Regions from separate parts of the Homo sapiens genome. Here all the other regions are linked to region 3. The links are contacts of gene promoters, found by promoter capture Hi-C in human tissues and cell types (Jung and others, 2019). All regions are on one chromosome and are shown on one strand. The core of a region is centred on a gene start or on the middle of the fragment in contact, and the rest is flanking DNA. Distances in the headings are between cores, read along the strand shown.

The links. The method cuts DNA at HindIII sites, captures the fragments that hold promoters and counts their contacts. A contact is called where the count stands out against the background at its distance.
Region 1: a contact is called between a fragment that was not itself captured here and the fragment with the promoter of NAT10 in region 3, in 1 of the 25 tissues and cell types used here (aorta).
Region 2: the fragment with the promoter of HIPK3 here is called in contact with the fragment with the promoter of NAT10 in region 3 in 1 of the 25 tissues and cell types used here (aorta).

What each region holds. Positions count from the first base shown.
Region 1 is chr11:34,630,616-34,633,315 of GRCh38, reverse strand. The region is part of intron 1 of EHF (ETS homologous factor); the gene reads right to left. Among named protein-coding and RNA genes, the nearest start is that of EHF, 11 kb to the right of the region's middle. The HindIII fragment of the contact is 3,664 bases long and covers 1-2,700 here.
Region 2 is chr11:33,255,966-33,258,665 of GRCh38, reverse strand. It overlaps HIPK3 (homeodomain interacting protein kinase 3), which reads right to left and starts at 1,285. Exons shown (of 17, transcript NM_005734.5): 1 at 777-1,285. RefSeq lists silencers at 331-530, 601-940, 1,201-1,530. The HindIII fragment of the contact is 7,361 bases long and covers 1-2,700 here.
Region 3 is chr11:34,104,357-34,107,056 of GRCh38, reverse strand. NAT10 (N-acetyltransferase 10) reads right to left here and starts at 1,428. Exons shown (of 29, transcript NM_024662.3): 1 at 1,265-1,428. RefSeq lists an enhancer at 1,216-1,675. The HindIII fragment of the contact is 6,988 bases long and covers 1-2,700 here.

The sequences.
Region 1 (2,700 bases), core at 135-2,634, 530 kb before region 3:
GAGACAAAAGATTCAATGTAGAGAATTCAACCTCTAATCCATCTGCAGATAACCTACTATTATATTATTTGCCAACTTGAGGGAATTGCTTAGTTCTATTAATACCAAATGGTCAAATTCAACAATAATTGGATACTCAAAAGTATGAGTTCTGAAGTCCGAACAGACAAATCTGGCCCCAGAATATAGCGCTTGCAGAGGATCTCTCTGATGGTTACTTGCATCAGGAGCATCTCAAGGCTGGCCAAGCCACCCTAACCCCATCCCACCTCCATCTCAGTCCTTCAAAAGATTACTTAATTACCCTGGACTTAAGCCCTCATACAGAAGACAATTAGTCTCTCAGCTTTCAGCAGAAAGAAACTATTACCAAGAAATGCTTATCCGGCCATTACAATATTGTCTCAGACCCTCTGTAATTCATACATATTTACCAAGTGTCTACTAGATGCTGGGCACTTTGCTAGGTGCTGGCGATACAATAGTTAACAAAACATAGACGCTGCCCTACCCTGATGGACTATTCACAAGGACACGGCTTCCAAAATAATAGTGGCTCCTTCCAAAGTCATCTGAGCTCATTCCCCACCTCCTGTTGTGAATGGAATGGGGCAAGAGCAGAGAGAGCCGGGCAACCCTCTCTGGCATTTGAGAATGACCAACCTTGAAAAGAATTTCAGCTAGGCTTAAAAGCAGGACCAATCCTCTTCTCTCCGGCAACCCCATGCCCTTGCCTTCACAGAAAACTCTGACTAGGACGTGGAGTTGGCAGAGAGGATAATGCTTCTGAGTTTCACAAAGCAGCCTGAGCCAAAACCAATCTCCACTCAGGGCAGAATAAAGCAGTGGGTTGTCTGGATGGCTGAATGTCTCTCTCTGAGACAATGGTGTGTTTATGTGTAGGAGGGTCAGGAGCAGGTTGTTAACATAAAACCCACCGTAAACAGAGCTGTTAATTCAGTTGCTGGCAGGGGCTTCTGTTATCTTCTGAATACCTCCCAGAGGGTATAAGCCCTACCTTTTCATTTGAGTTGGCAGCAGAGTTATTTTTTTGCACCTGTTGCTCTGCTCCGATAACAACGCAGTTAAGCATTGATTTGTAGGAAAATAAACAGAAAAAAGCAAAGAAAGGCATCTGCCCAAACAGCCTGAGCTGGTTTGACTGAGTGTTCATGCCAATTTGTTTTTCCTATAAAAACCAAAGAAAAACCTGCGTTTTCAGTTTGGATGCTACATTTTCACTCCCTCAATATAAAAGGGGGTATCAAATAGGCCAGAGGGAGATGGCAAGGCTGAGAAGCCAGAAGACGTTGTACTTTTCCATTGGCTGGTTCTGTGAGGGCACTCAGGGGTGTCCATGGTCTGCAAAGTGACATGGCCAGCCTCCAGCCAGCCCAGGTTCAGATCATGAATCAGATTAACAAGGGCAGAGAAAAGACTGCTGGGATACGATCGAAACCAAAACCACACTCTTCTAAATGGTTGACTTCCAAAAGTCAATACAGTTTAGGGAGTAGGTGTAGTCTCTAGGTTACCTCCTAAAGTGGAGGCTCAGTGTACCCAGATCTCAGTCAAGCCTCTCCCCCAGACATCCTACATCCAGCCCTGGGCAAAAAGCATAATTTGAAAACCCCTGGTTCCCGGACCACAGTTTTCCCATCGCATAAATGAGGCTAGCCACACCTACCTCAAAATCGGGCTGTGTAGACCCACTCATCTCCTGCCAAGAGATTTGAGGCCTCAGGTCCCAGGTGGAAAGGGCCTGAGATGTCCTAGATGTGATTTCTGTCCTAATCCAAGCATCATCACATGCTCACTTCTCATTAATTTGTCAATGTCACATGATAAGCTAAGTCCAAAAAGGGCCACAAGGAGCTAAACAAATCGCCCAAATGGAGATCATGAACAACATTAATTAAGCAATGGCATCAGCACTCAGCCTTCAGCACACACAGTCAGAGGGAGCTTTTGAATATCTCTTTTTGGCCGGGCGCAGTGGCTCATGCTTTTAATCCCAGCACTTTGGGAGTCCGAGGCGGGCATATCACTTGAGGTCAGGAGTTCAAGACCAATGTAGTTAATATGGTGAAACCCCGTCTCTACTAAAAATATACAAATTAGCCAGGCATGGTGGCATGTGCCTGTAGTCCCAGCTACTTGGGAGGCTGAGGCAGGAGAATCACTTGAACCCAGGAGGTGGAGGTTGCAGTGAGCCATGACTGTGCCACTGCACACCCAGCCTGGGCAACCAAGTAAGACTCCATCTCAAAAATAAAAATAAAAATAAAATAATATAATATCTCTTTTTAAGCTTTGTAGAAGAAAGCACAGTCAAGGCAACATGCAACATTTCCCCAGACAAACACCTTGCCCCAGTGTTCTCCGGGCCGTTGGGGGTTCATTACTACCAGACCACTGGCTTCATGGGGGAGGGGGGCTTATGGCAGTGGGGCCTCAGAAATGTTGCCTCTCCAGGAGCATTAAGAACTGGGTGTTCCGACAGGGGAGGGATATGGCTGACTGAGCGTTCCCAGGCATTCTTGTTATGAGCAGCGTAGGGAGTGGAGTGCTTAGAACCAAATCGGGCAGCAGAAAAATAAAAGATTTAACAACACCCTTAGTTGACTGATAAATAAGACCAACTGTGCAGGAATGTAGGAAGGGTGGAGGACGGTAAGGGGTGGGGATTGGAGCCAGGGA
Region 2 (2,700 bases), core at 36-2,535, 850 kb after region 3:
CGACAGAGAAACAGACATTTTCATCCAAAGTCTTTCCGCCAGTTCTCCCAGTGCGGCGAAGGGAAGCGGGCGGCAGCCACCGTAACGAGAGAAGCCGGCAACAGCCCCGCCGCGCGGCCGCCACGCCTTCCTCCCGCCGCCGCTGGGGACGCGGAGCCGCGGATCACATTTCTCCTCCCCAACAATCACACACACGCACGCACGTCCCCAGAGTTGACACCCTGCAAACCCGCTGCTCCGCGACGCTGGGGACGGGGCCACAAAGCCCGGGACGCGGCCATCGGCTGGGGTGCTCAAGCTGCGTGCCTGCGCGTTTGTTTGTTCCCCTTAATGAAAGGAAAGGGATCTCCGTAGTTACGGCCTAGGACTGCGGAGGGGGAAGAGAGGCTCCCCGTGGGACTAAACAAAACTTCGGTTGCTGGGAAGAGCCGTTGCGCAACCTTGGCAGGGGGAGGGGGGGCCGAGGCCCCCGGGCCCCGGCCAGGCGCGGCTTCCCGGAGGCTACGGCCCCCGCGTCCGGCGGCCCAGGGCCTGGCGTGGCGCCGGCTTCGAGGGAGCGGCTCATACCGGGCCACACTGCAGGGGCTAGGGCGGAAACTGGGAGCACGAGAGCGCTGGGGATGCGGATGGGGCACGGGACGCGCAATGAGTGCGGGCTGCGCCGGAGGTGTCGGGCCAGGCCCGGGTCAGGCTTGGGGTCCGCTGGCCGCGGAGCCCGCAGACGGAGCCGATCCCCCCACCCCGGGGTGGCGGCGCCCCTCGCTCGACTCCCTTACCTTCCTAGAGGCCCGCGCTCTCTCCTCTTCGGGCGGCCGCAGCCCTGAGCATGTCCGGGGTGGGGCGCAGGGCCGTGCCGGGGACCGGGAGCCAGGCGCTTCAGCAGGCGGCACCACCCAGCCCGGGCTCAGCCCCTCTCCGCGGCCGCTGCCATCTTGTCCTGGCGGCTGAGAGGAAACGGCGAAACACCCTCCCCCGACCGCTGCTGCTGCTGCTGCTGCTCTGGCTGCTAAGCGCCGGGCCCGTCTCCCTCATCTTCCTTCCCGGGGATTTGGGGTGGGGACGGCTTGGCTAGGGCGAGGGGTAGTGGGAGGCCGGTCGGCCTCCGGCTACTGGGGCCTACGGGCGACGCAGGGTGCGGGGCCCACGGCGATTGGGGCCCATTCCTGACGCCCCGGCCGGGAGCGGAGAAGGAAGACTGGCGGGAGTGGTGGCGACGGCGGGGCCTGCGGCTTGATCTCCTCAGGTCGCCGCGATGCCGGCAGTCGTCACTGAGGCAGCTGCCACCAGCCGCCCCAGCCTCGGGCCCCTCCTCCGCGCTCGTCGGCCTCGGCCACCGCCTCCGCAGCGCCACCGCCCGCCCGGCAGCGCTGCGCGCCCAGCCCGGGCGGCTCCGCTCCGCTCCGGCCGCGGCGCCTCCGTGAAGCCCCTCCCCGGGGTCCGCCCGCCAGTCCGCAGCCGCGCCCTTGTTGCCCGGAGCCCGCCTGCCAGCCCGTGCGGCCCCAACCCGGAGTCCCGCAAGCCAAGCCTCCCGCGAAAGAAGCATCCGTCAGCCCGGCTCTGCTGTTCTGAACCTCACTCCATGCCCCCTCCGCCAGAAATACACATTTTTAAAAAAGATCCCAATACCCGAAGAAAGGATGAAGATGCGGAAGCAGGATTTTACAGGCCTTTCGAGATCCCGGAACCGTAATTAAGGATCTGTTTCTCGGCATTTGGTCGTTAAAGGTCCCAAAATAAGTAAAGGGGAAATGCTCAAATGAACGACCTCAATCTAAACTAGGTTCTACCCGCTCCCCTATCCCAAAGAGTGAAGAGAATTGTAAAGCCAGGTTCAAGGACGGGGGAAGGGTCCTCTTGGAAATTTTAAGAGCATCTCTACTGTCCAAAACCCCATAATTGTGAAGTTCGCCCACCTCCACATTGGTAATTCTCCGTTAAATTAGTCGGTTTAACTCCCAAAGACTAGTTTCTTTCCTCCTGGAGATTAGGAAATCAACAGAATGGCCTGTTTCAGCTTACATAATCGTGGAACCATAGAATTTTAGGAATGAAAGAAGCTTTGCGATCCTTGGTCCCAACTCTTACACTCAGGAGTTCCAAGAAGTTTAGGTGACATGACCAAGGTTATACAGTAAAGCCCATGTCTCCCACCCCATCTTTCCTCCTTTTCCCTAGGAAACAAATGGCTTTCTAATACCTCACATTCAGAGTTGATTTTCTTTTATACCCGTTTCCTCAGGTTCCCTTTGTTCTGAATCAATGTCTAACCTTTTGGGAAACAAACACCTTTCTGGAATGGAAGTGTCCTTTCTTTGTTTCCTTCATAATCTTCACTAGCAAGATTGAATTTACCAGAGATGTATTTATTCCCAGAAATTTTCTATTGCAGTAACTGGGGCAGGGCAAAGGGAGTGGCAAATTGCTGCATACATAATACACATTTAATCCCTGCTGCTCTTCAAACCGGAAGATGAGTATTTTGGATAATGCCTTTAAGAGACAAAGGAGGCCGGGCGCGGTGGCTCGCACATGTAATCCCAGCACTTTGGGAGGCTGAGGCGGGTGGATCACCTGTGGTCAGGAGTTCAAGACCAGCCTGGCCAACATAGTGAAACCTGGTCTCTACTAAAAATGCAAAAATTAGCTGGGCGTGGTGGCGGGCGCCTGTAATCCCAGCTACTCGAGAGCTGAGGTAAGAGA
Region 3 (2,700 bases), core at 179-2,678:
CCGTCTCAAAAAAAAAAAAAAAAAAGTTCTGTGATTACCTACAGTAAAATACTGCATCATCCCAATAAATACATCAAAAAAACCATCAGAAATATCACTGTAAAAGTAACATGCTACTTAGATGTAAAAGTGACATGCTACTTAGAAACTCTGGTACCTACTGCATTATAAACATAAAGCTCATTTACTGAAACTTACCATACCTTAACTGTCCCTTCTAACCTTCCAATCCAAACAGATTTTAGCATATGTCTTACTATAAAACACTAAGTCACTGTCAAGGACCCCAATTTATACGTAAAGGAGAAAGTATAAAGAATTCAAATATCCCGAGGCAGAAAAACGACAGACAGAATTCACACTCAAGTCTTCCTGACTCCAAAGCCTGAGCTCTTCCCAGTTCGCCAATCTTCCCAACTTGTAAACCTTGTGTTGCCGGCCACATAAAGATCCCGCAAAAATCAATCAACAACTAATTAATGGGGGCTGCCTTTTGCTCTAGCTACTGTGGGAGCCCCAGAAGTAGTACCACAAGGCCCTTGACTTCAAGCTTGCATTCTTCTTGAAGAAGGTATTTAAGAGAATGAGATGAGGAACAAGAACACAGGTAAAATTAGATGTAAAAAAAAAAAAAATAGCTATACTGAGGGACCGGTCAGATGAAGGAAGGGCTGAGATTACTATGGGCTGAAGCTGTCATGGAAGGCCTGGATGGGGAAGGCCTTGAAGGAGATGATTATTTTTCGCTCACTCATTCGTCTATCTACACATAACATCTATGTGGCAGGCACCATTTTAGGTGCACTGGCAAACAAAACCAAGTCCTGAATGTGACTGCTGAATAAAGAGTATAAAGGAATGTGCACAGTGAAGGATTTAAGAACGTGGAAGGATCTGGAATCAGATTACCCTAAGTATAATGCCCAGACCTGCAGCCAGGCACTGCGGGCAAGCTCCACGGAAAACAACTGTTGTCACCCACCCATTCACCCCGACTCCCCAGTTACAGGCACTACTTAGAGGTGGTTATCGAGCCACGCAAATCCCCGAGGACGCTCGAGAAGCACGCGCCGAGAGCGGCTGCGTATTGGAGAGGTGATTCTGTTATCTTGGAGCGCCCCAAAAGAGGGGTGGAGGACAAACGGCGTAGGCCAGGTATCCGTCCGGATGCAGAGCCTTCATCCTGAGGCCGGTCCCCTCTCGACCCAGGAAGAACACAGACACCGATCTTGGCATCCATACCCGGCCCTCCCGCGTTGGGTACCTGCGCCCCGAGCCCGGGGGATCCCAGCCAGTGGAGAAGGGGAAGCACGTGGGAGCACGGAACAACTCCGAAAGAGAAGGCACAGCTGACTGCCCCTAGCGTATGCCTGGTGTCCGGGTCACGTAGTAAGCCTGGCTCCGCGGCACGCGTCCCTCTCAGGAACTGGTAGACAGCACGTGCGCAAGCGCATTAAAGTCGCAGAGATGGCGAGCGAGAAGGGACCTTCCTCAAGGCTGTCGCTGAGTAATGACGTAAGCCACCAGAAGCGGAGCTGAGGCCTAGATGTCCACTGCGGTTGCGCATTTTAGTCCCACTGCTCGCGGTAGCTGGGTGTTGGCTGCGGTTTGCCTCTTCACTCTTCATATCCCAGCTAAAGTACCTCGGCTAAGAAGGGCAAAATAGATGTCCGCACCCCAGGGCCTGCCCACGTAGGTCCAGGGTTTTCAGCGTCAGCCTGGTTACGCGAAACGCGACGGATCCAACGATTTGTGTTCAATTTAACCGATCCCCGTTAAGTTGAGGAAACTCGGCCAACAGACCTATTTTATTGGTTTCGCTTGGCCCTCCACCCCCACAGTACTGATCTTACAGATGGGAATCCTGTAATCTACCCATGACTGCGGCCGCTGTACTTTGCAGGCTCCCATTAGGCCTGTATATGGTCGTCAAATGAAATTACTCCCCCTGGGCTTCCAGTGAACTCCAAGAACATGACTACAGGGACAACCTATACATAGTGTTGCATTCTTGACTTTGGGGCAGATCGCTGAACTTCAAAAAACATTATCAACTGCTTGATGTTTCCTCCTGGATACCGCAAATGTCTGAATCCAAACCCCTTCCCCAGATACACTTTTAATGTCATCAGCAGCACTACCCATTTAATCCAACATCCATCATGAAATTTTTTAGTTCATTCAGCAAAATGTGAATATGCCCACGCACTATTCTGCTCACAAGGGATAGTGTCCAAAATGTTCCTGCCCCTCGTGGTTAATTCTAGGTTAAGTTTTAAATGCTATTAAGCAGAAGTATCCAGTGAGTAAAGTGACTAAGGATACTATTTTAGAAACGAACACTGAAGGCCTCTGACGGGGTGACACTGGATGGAACAAGGACCTGAAATTTAGAAAGAATGAGCCCTGAGAATATGAGTGAAAAACTTCCCCGTGCCAAAGATGTACATACAAAAGCTCCAAGATGGGGGAGTCCTGGCAAAGCAGTCAGTGTGGCCAAAGCAGTGGGCAAGTGAAGGACCAGATTTAGAATTTAATTCTAGTCATGATGAGAAACCACTGGAGTTTGTGGGGGACAGGGAAATGAGAAAATCTGCTTTGCCCTCTTAAAAGGCTTCCTGTTATGCAAAAACTAAATCACAGGAAGGCAAAAGTAGAAAAAGGAGAACAATTATAAGCTATTGTAGTCACCTGTGCTAG